Regions from separate parts of the Homo sapiens genome. Here region 1 is linked to region 2. Evidence: promoter capture Hi-C in human tissues and cell types (Jung and others, 2019). All regions are on one chromosome and are shown on one strand. Each heading gives the region's core, a stretch centred on a gene start or on the middle of the fragment in contact. The rest is flanking DNA. Distances are from core to core; before and after follow the strand shown.

The links. The method cuts DNA at HindIII sites, captures the fragments that hold promoters and counts their contacts. A contact is called where the count stands out against the background at its distance.
Region 1: a fragment that was not itself captured here is called in contact with the fragment with the promoter of IRGM in region 2 in 1 of the 25 tissues and cell types used here (H1 embryonic stem cells).

What each region holds. Positions count from the first base shown.
Region 1 is chr5:151,124,636-151,129,091 of GRCh38, forward strand. It overlaps ANXA6 (annexin A6), which reads right to left. Exons shown (of 26, transcript NM_001155.5): 13 at 3,546-3,604; 14 at 1,767-1,845. Among named protein-coding and RNA genes, the nearest start is that of ANXA6, 31 kb to the right of the region's middle. RefSeq lists an enhancer at 1,519-1,678. The HindIII fragment of the contact is 4,399 bases long and covers 1-4,085 here.
Region 2 is chr5:150,844,381-150,848,414 of GRCh38, forward strand. IRGM (immunity related GTPase M) reads left to right here and starts at 2,141. Exons shown (of 2, transcript NM_001145805.2): 1 at 2,141-2,840; 2 at 3,329-4,034. The coding sequence starts at 3,744. RefSeq lists a silencer at 2,727-3,021. The HindIII fragment of the contact is 10,169 bases long and covers 1-4,034 here.

The DNA of each region.
Region 1 (4,456 bases), core at 636-3,135, 280 kb after region 2:
AATTGGCTAGGCTCCCGCCTGCCACGGGATCTGCCTCGGTTCTAGTGCCCCTTGGCTGCTTATTCCACCGGGGCATCCCCAATTCTTCTGAATCCTACCCTGCCCCCGAGGCCCCCTCTGCCTCTTAAAGAGTCATTCCCCCTGAAAAGGCAGCAGAAAAGTTCTGAAATACCAGAACAGAGTTTCCCAAATTTCAGTCACTCCTAAAGGACTTTCACTATTCCAAATTAGCACACACACTATGCCATCTCTTAATGGTTTTATGTAATTCAACTTCTTTTCTGTCTACTTAAATGCATCAATTTTTGAAGTGCATTTAAAATTACTCCCAAAAGGCAAGGAATTGTATCCGTTTTATCCTGTTACATATCCCAGGTGCCTACAACAGTGTCTGACATAATAGGCACACTCAAAAAATAATTGTTAAGTGGATTAATGAGGCTTGGCACAATGGCTCATGCCTGTAATCTCAGCACTTTGGGAGGCCAAGGCAGGAGGATCGCTTGAGCCCATTGGTTCAAGATGAGCCCAGGCAACATGGTGAAACCCTGTCTCTACACAAATTAGCCAGGTGTGGTGGTGTCCACCTGAGGTCCCAGCTACTTGGGAAGCTAAGTGGAAGGATCACCTGAGCCTGGGGAGGTGGCAGTGAGCCATGATCATGCCACTGTACTCCAGCCTGGATAACAGAGTGAGACCCTGTCTCAAAAAAAAAAAAAAAAAAAGGAATGGATGAAATTAATTTTATATAACTACCATGAATTAGGAAGTTGATACCATGTATCATAAACTGACAATTTACCACAAAAATCAACATAATAAAAACAAAAGAGGTGATATACCATGAAATTTAACATGATGCCTCTACTTGCCAGAAGCTCTGAAACTTAAAGCGAGCTCTCTCAGCTTTCTCTTTGTGAAAAAGGAAAATCAGCAAGTGTTGCAGAGACGGCGGCACCAAACCAAGACTTCCTCTTTGACGTAATCAGAAACGCTGATGAAATTGGAAAGGAGTGCCTTTCTCATTCACTCTGTGGAGTTCAGCGTTATTCAACCCTGCCAAACTAAATTCACTTCTCACATCACCTACAATCATCTGCAAAGATCTCTTGCCTTATCATTTGGGGAACACTGTCCTAGAACATCAGAGCTCAAGAGCCCTAAGAGATCACCGAGATTGCCATGTTAACCCCTCACTTTAAAGATGGAGACATAGAGGCCCAGAGGGAGGGGGCACCTTCCAAAGGTTACATAGCGAATAAGTAACAGAGAGCTCCAAGGTCCCATGCTTTTTTGTGTGGACCAAGTGTTGCAGTCTCTGGAATGGTTTGCCTAAAGTACTTTAGTGAAACCTTTCATTCCTGTCCTTTGTGGACCCCCAGTCTGAGGATGCTCAGGAGGACAACCTGAAATCCTCCAGTGCACCCAGGGATGCCCATCTGTTCTCAGCTTTCATGTCTCTGAGGCCAACTGTTTCGACTCCAGACGGGACAGGCCCCTCCATGGAACCAGCCAGGTCTCCATTTCAGCAAGCCCTGTTAGTAAGTGGGCCAGAACCCTTTCCAGCGTGTCAGAAGCTAATGCAGAAACCAGGTGCGCCCCTCCACCAGTTCACCACTCCAAGGGAGAAAAGGAAGCTTCAGATGTGAGAATCAACGTGTCGGGTTGGCCGCCAGGGGGCAGCTGGGTGCCAACCAGAGCAGCAGGAAGGTGCAAGCAGAGAAGCTGTGGTCAAGAGGTCAAGCAGGAGGAGGGGAAGGTCTGACCTCTACTCGGGCCACTGCACTAAGTTCCCACATCTGATAGGCCACCTGCGCTGCCTCCGGGAAGAACTGGCCAGCAGCACTGGAATGGAGGGGTTTAGGGAGAGGACAGGAAGGAATGTCATCATGGGCAACACTCACACCAACACACACACACACACACACACACACACCCCAACACATACACACACGTGCACACACCACACACACATTAAGCTTTCTTTCTCTCCAGCCTATGCCTCCTCCATTCGCCAGAGTCCTCCCTCCATTTCTGAGAACCTTCCATCTCTTGAGACCCCCTGCAATGCTGCCTTTTTTATTTTTTATTTTTATTTGAGACGGAGTTTTGCTCTTGTCACCCAGGCTGGGGTGCAGTGGCTCGATCTCAGCTCACTGCAACCTCTGCCTCCCAGGTTCAAGCGATTCTCCTGCCTCAGTCTCCCAAGTAGCTAGGATTACAGGCACCCGCCATCACGCCTGGCTAATTCTTGTATTTTTAGTAGAGATGGGGTTTCGCCATGTTGGCCAGGCTGGTCTTGAACTCCTGACCTCAGGTGATCCGCCCGCCTCAGCCTCCCAAAGTGCTGGGATTACAGGCGCTGAGCCACTGTGTCCGGCCAATGCTGGCTTTTAAGGGCAGCCTTCCTGGCTGCAGAGTCCAAGCAGGATAGGATTTTTCCAATCCTTCAGCCTCCCCTTTCTTCCTTAGAATTTGAATGGCTTCTATCCAACTCTCCCCTCTCAAAGAGGCCATTGAGCAAGCTATGGCCATGCCAGCCCTGCATCTCCTCCTGCAAAGTGCCTGGATGCATCAGGAGCTCAGTAATATCTGCTGAACTGCATCAACCCCTATGGTCCTTACCAAAGGTTCACAGGAAATTCTTGCATCCCTTCTGTAATTGGATCTTTATAAGATCCAGAGAAAGGAAATCAGAGCGCAGCCTGTTCCCTTTCTCAAACACAAATCTGGTCAAGTAATGTCCCAATTTAACATTCTGGGAAGAGGCCCCCAGGCCCTCCCACTTCTCTGCCTTATTTCTCTCTCTAGTACTCCATAAATGCATGACTTCGGACATATGAATGAATCAGGCCACTCCTTCTCACTCCTCGGCTTTTCTATAGGTGATTTCCTCCACCCAAACACTGTCCCCAGACCCTCTTCACCTGGCTCTTCCCCTTCCTCCTTGGGTCTCACCGTGTATCTCCAAAGAGTCTCCCCTTGGTCTGGGCTAGGGCATCTCTGTGTGCTTTTATATATGCTTTCTATGTGGCACAGCCAGTTCTCCCCAGCACAGGACTGCTCCCTTCTGGAAACTGGTCTATACCCTTCTGCGCTGTGGCCTTCATCAGGGGCTTCCTCACAGGGTCTGCACCCAGAAGGCACTTAACACAAATATGCTGCATAAATGAGTAGGCAGAGCAGGAATGTGTCCTTTTCCCATTTAACAGGTGATGAAACCGAGAAATGGCTATGAAATAGCAGGGATTGGATGCTCATATTCTGGTTCCTAGTCCACAACCCCAGACTGACTTTCCAAGTTCACAAGAGCAGACATCTCCATATACAGGAGACCACGCTCACGTTCAGACCCCCACACTCTCAGACACACAGACCCACAAGCACAGCAGCTACCAGCAAAAGCCGCCTTTCACTTGTGCGACGCTCCTGGCTCAGGGGAATCCCCAGCTCATCCAATCCACCCATCAGGATGCGAGCCAGGAGAGTCCCCGCCTGGCACCCCAAGGCCATGCCCTCCAGCCAGGGGCCAAGAAGCCACTTACTCATCATCTCCCCCAGACAGCTTCAGCAGAGTCTTCTTGTACTCGCCAGAGGTGTCATTCTGAAGAGAAAGAAAGAAAGGTTACCTCTCACCCAGCCCTGGGCTCCTCTCAGACAAGGAGGTGAAGGTTCTGCACAGCCTGAAAGAGGGGAAGGCTGAATGAACACTTATTCATAGCAGCCCTGGCCCTCCTGTGCTGGTTAATATTGAATAACTGGTTCTCAGCGGGCAGGTTGGAGGAAGCCCTAATTTATAGCATTTGCCTATTTCTGTGGTGTAAATACTTCTAGCAATGGACAATTTCAAGTTACCAATATGACTTTGCTACCAATATGCGGAGTTGAGAAGAGATGCTCGCTGCCCTTTCAAGCCAGTGCCCCAGCACAGCACTGCCACCAGACAGTCCCCAGCCCAGTCCTTCCACATGAAATATGCATGGAAATGGGGTTCCATGAGCAAAAATATTGGGAAATGCAAAAAAATCAAACAAATATATATTACACAGATGCACATATCCGTATAGATGCATATTCCATATCCCTCTTGGGGCTTCATAATGGACTTCAAAATGTGAAAGGCTGTGAGAAGTTCTGAGGTAAAGAAACTGGCTTATTTATCTTTGCTTATTGTGGTTTGTTACAAACTTATTTTCCCATAGAACATTTTGCACATAACACCTAAAAAAATTACCCTTTGGAAACATACTTTGGAGAATACAACTTGGATCTCTTTCTCTGTCACCCCATAAAGTTTTATTTCAGTCATCCAAAAAAAAAAAAAAAAAGGGAAAACCCCTAGCTTTACATATGTCTCCTGATAAAGCCTCAGGGGCCGGATGTCCCAGAGTCATCACCAATCACCCGGCCCAGGCCAAAGGTTCCCCTTTAACCCTCATTTGTGTTCTTCAGTGTT
Region 2 (4,034 bases), core at 891-3,390:
CAGACTAACTAAAAGCCACCATATCTAAGTAGCATTTGATGAGAAGAAACTAGTTATTTATGTAAACCAAAATAATTAATGTTACAACGGAGAAACTTTATATAGCAGCCACAGATGAAGCCTGGCATGAGGAAGTCAATGATCAGTTGCTGCTCTCGCCATATGGTGGGTTATAAAATCTTCCCAAGACAAGTGAGGCACCGAGAAATTGAAGACTCATATACATTCCAGAGAACAGGGCCTCTCTCATCCATCTCCTCCATTAGGGCCTTTCTTCATATTTCATAGATAGACAGCTGGAGCCAGTTCTCTGCTTCCTGGGCCCTCTAAAAGGGCCAAAGACTTGGACAAATCCATTGTCCTGGGCACTCAGGAGGCAAGATTCTGTGTGTGCATGAGTGTACGAACATGTGTCATGTGAGAGAGTGTGTGGGCACTGGGCACACGAAGCATGAGGGTAGGTGAGTGAACATGTGTCAGCCTACATGAGTGTATATATATGTGCACAGAGTGTGTGAGCATGTGTGCATCAAACATAAGTTTGTGTGAACGTGGCACCACGAGTGAATTTGTGTGTTTGTGTGTGGGGTAAGTGAACATGTTGCAGCCTGAGTGAGCAAGTGTAGTGTGTGCAACAGGGATGTATGTATTCATGTTTACACATGTCAGCTTAAGTATGTTAGGGTGTGTGAACGTGTGTCAGTGTGAGTATGTGTGGGCCTGTGCACAGAATGCAAGTAAGTGTATGTGTGCATGCCGAGGGTGAGTGAGAGTGTGTGTGTGGGGGGGTAAGTAAACATGGCTGGGCATGGGTGAGTGTGCACACCAGGTATGAGTGGCTGTGTGCAGTGTTGTGTGTGTTCACAATGAGTGTGTGAAACAGACCTGCCAGGCCATGCTAGTGAGAGGTGACAGCATGCTGGCAGCCCTCGCAGCCCTCGCTGGCTCTCGGAGCCTCCTCAGCCTTGGCGCCCACTCTAGTGGCACTTGAGGAGCCCTTCAGCCCGCCGCTGCACTGTGGGAGCCCCTTTCTGGGCTGGCCAAGGCCGGAGCTGGCTCCCTCAGCTTGTGGGGAGGTGTGGAGGGAGAGGCACGGGCAGCAACTGGGGCTGCGGGCGTCGCTTGCGGGCCAGCACGAGTTCCGGGTGGGCGTGGGCTCAGCGGGCCCGCGCTCAGAGCAGCCATCCGGCCCCGATGGCCCCTGGCAGTGAGGGGCTTAGCACCTGGGCCAGCAGCTGCTGTGCTGGATTTCTCCCCGGCCTTAGCTGCCTCCCCGCAGGGCAGGGCTTGGGACCTGCAGCCCGCCATGCCTGAGCCTCTCTCCCCTGCCCCACTCCGTGGGCTCCTGCACAGCCCGAGCCTCCCCTATGAGCGCCGCTCCCTGCTCCACGGCGCCCAGTCCCATCCACTGCCCAAGGGCTGAAGAGTGCAGGCGCATGGCCGGGGACTGCCAGGCAGCTTCACCTGCGGCCTGGTGCAGGATCCACTGGGTGAAGCCAGCTGGGCTCCTGAGTCTGGTGGGGACTTGGACAACATTTATGTCTAGCTAAGGGATTGTAAATACACCAATCAGCACTCTGTATCTAGCTCAAGGTTTGTAAACACACCAATCAGCACCCTGTGTCTAGCTCAGGGTTTGCGAACACACCAATCGACCCTCTGTATCTAGCTAATCTAGTGGGGACATGGAGAACTTTTGTGTCTAGCTCAGGAATTGTAAATGCACCAATCAGCACCCTGTGTCTAGCTCAGGGTTTGTGGATGCACCAATCAGCACTCTGAGCCTAGCTAATCTGGTGGGGACTTGGAGAATCTTTATGTCTAGCTAAGGGATTGTGAATGCACCAATTGGCACTCTATATCTAGCTCAAGGTTTGTAAACACACCAATCAGCACCCTGTGTCTAGCTCAAGGTTTGCAAATGCACCAATCTATACTCTGTATCTAGCTAATCTAGTGGGGAGGTGGAGAACTTTTGTGTCTAGCTCAGGGATTGTAAACACACCAATCAGCACCCTGTCAAAATGGACCAATCAGCTCTCTGTAAAACAGACCAATCGGCTCTCTGTAAAATGGACCAATCAGCAGGATGTGGGTGGGCCAGATAAGAGAATAAAAGCAGGCTGCCCGAACCAGCAGTGGTAACCTGCTCAGGTCCCCTTCCATGCTGTGGAAGCTTTGTTTTTTTGCACTTTGCAGTAAATCTTGCTGCTGCTCATTCTTTGGGTCCACACTGCCTTTATGAGCTGTAACACTCACCGTGAAGGTCTGCAGCATCACTCCTGAAACCTGTGAAACAACGAACCCCCCGGGGAGAAACGAACAACTCCAGACTCGCCGCCTGAAGAGCTGTAACTCTCACTTCGAAGGTCTGCAGCTTCGCTCCTGAGTCAGTGAAACCACGAACCCACCGGAAGGAAGAAACTCTGAACACATCCAAACATCAGAAGGAACAAACTCCGGACACGCAGCCTTTAAGAATTGTAACACTCACCGCGAGGGTCCGTGGCTTCATTCTTGAAGTCAGTGAGACGAAGAACCCACCAATTCCGGTAGGAGTAGGAAATCACATCACCTTCTTTTAATCAGTCTCAAATACCTGGCCCCTTGTGGAACCTGCAAGAGCCAGGTTTGGCGAATGCAATGATAAGCAATTGTCTAATCACTGCCTTGAAAAAGAGCAGAGCATTTGAGTATGCTGTCTCCTCCTCTCCCTCACTTCAGTTGGGCCCAACATGACAGTCTTAATGGAAGCTCGGGGGTCAAAGGCTGGTGGCTTACTTCACGTATATTGCAGCATTTCAGTACTGCTCTGCACGTGTGCTCCCCCGCCTGATGAGGTAAGTGTTAAACAGGGATGATCACAGCTTCAAGTAAGCAATGGGAATTGGATGTTTTATGTCCTCTGGCGCCATCTTCAGCAGAGAAATATATAGGTCACTTTTACTTGTCTGGTTTTGGTCTTGAAATATGTACTGAAACTTGTGAAGGAGCAGACCTATATTAGGATAGAGTAAAAGAGGGAAAGACAAAAACCTCTTGGGCTTTTCAGGAGACTTGGTTCATTCTCTGCTTTTCAAGCCATCTCATGGCCACATGCCTGCTTTGGAGGCTGACTCGGAGGCACAACCGGCCTCAGGGCGTTCCTCAGGGACCCTACCTTTCTTGCTCCCTGAAGAAATGTGCACATTGCTTGAATAAAAACAATCAAAGAACACTCAGTCAAGATCGTCTGCTGCAGTCTTCGTTGAGGGCTGGGGATGCTAAAAGTCAGATGATTCATGTGTACCCTGTCCATCCTAACTCACCTGCTCTTCTACTTCCGCAGCTTACTCCAGTGCCCACAGATACGACAGAGTGTCCCAAGTGCCCCTCACACTCTATTAGCTGCATCCTTAACCTCTTTTTGCCACACCATAAGCATTGGGTTTTGTTTGTTTTGAGATGGAGTCTTGCTCTGTTGCCAGGCTGGAGTGCAATGGCGTGATCTCAGCTCACTGCAATATCTGCGTCCAGGGTTCAAGCGATTCCCCTGCCTCAGCCTCCTGTATTAGCTGGGACTACAGGCGCACACCACCACGCGCAGCTAATTTTTTTGTATTTTAGTAGAGAAGGTTTCACGATGTTGGCCAGGATGGTCTCAATCTCCTGACCTCGTGATCTGCTCGCCTCGGCCTTCCAAAGTGCTGGGATTACAGGCATGAGCCACGGCGCCTGGCCAGCATTGGGGTATTTTATTGAAGATGGAAGCCATGAATGTTGAGAAAGCCTCAGCAGATGGGAACTTGCCAGAGGTGATCTCTAACATCAAGGAGACTCTGAAGATAGTGTCCAGGACACCAGTTAACATCACTATGGCAGGGGACTCTGGCAATGGGATGTCCACCTTCATCAGTGCCCTTCGAAACACAGGACATGAGGGTAAGGCCTCACCTCCTACTGAGCTGGTAAAAGCTACCCAAAGATGTGCCTCCTATTTCTCTTCCCACTTTTCAAATGTGGTGTTGTGGGACCTGCCTGGCACAGGGTCTGCC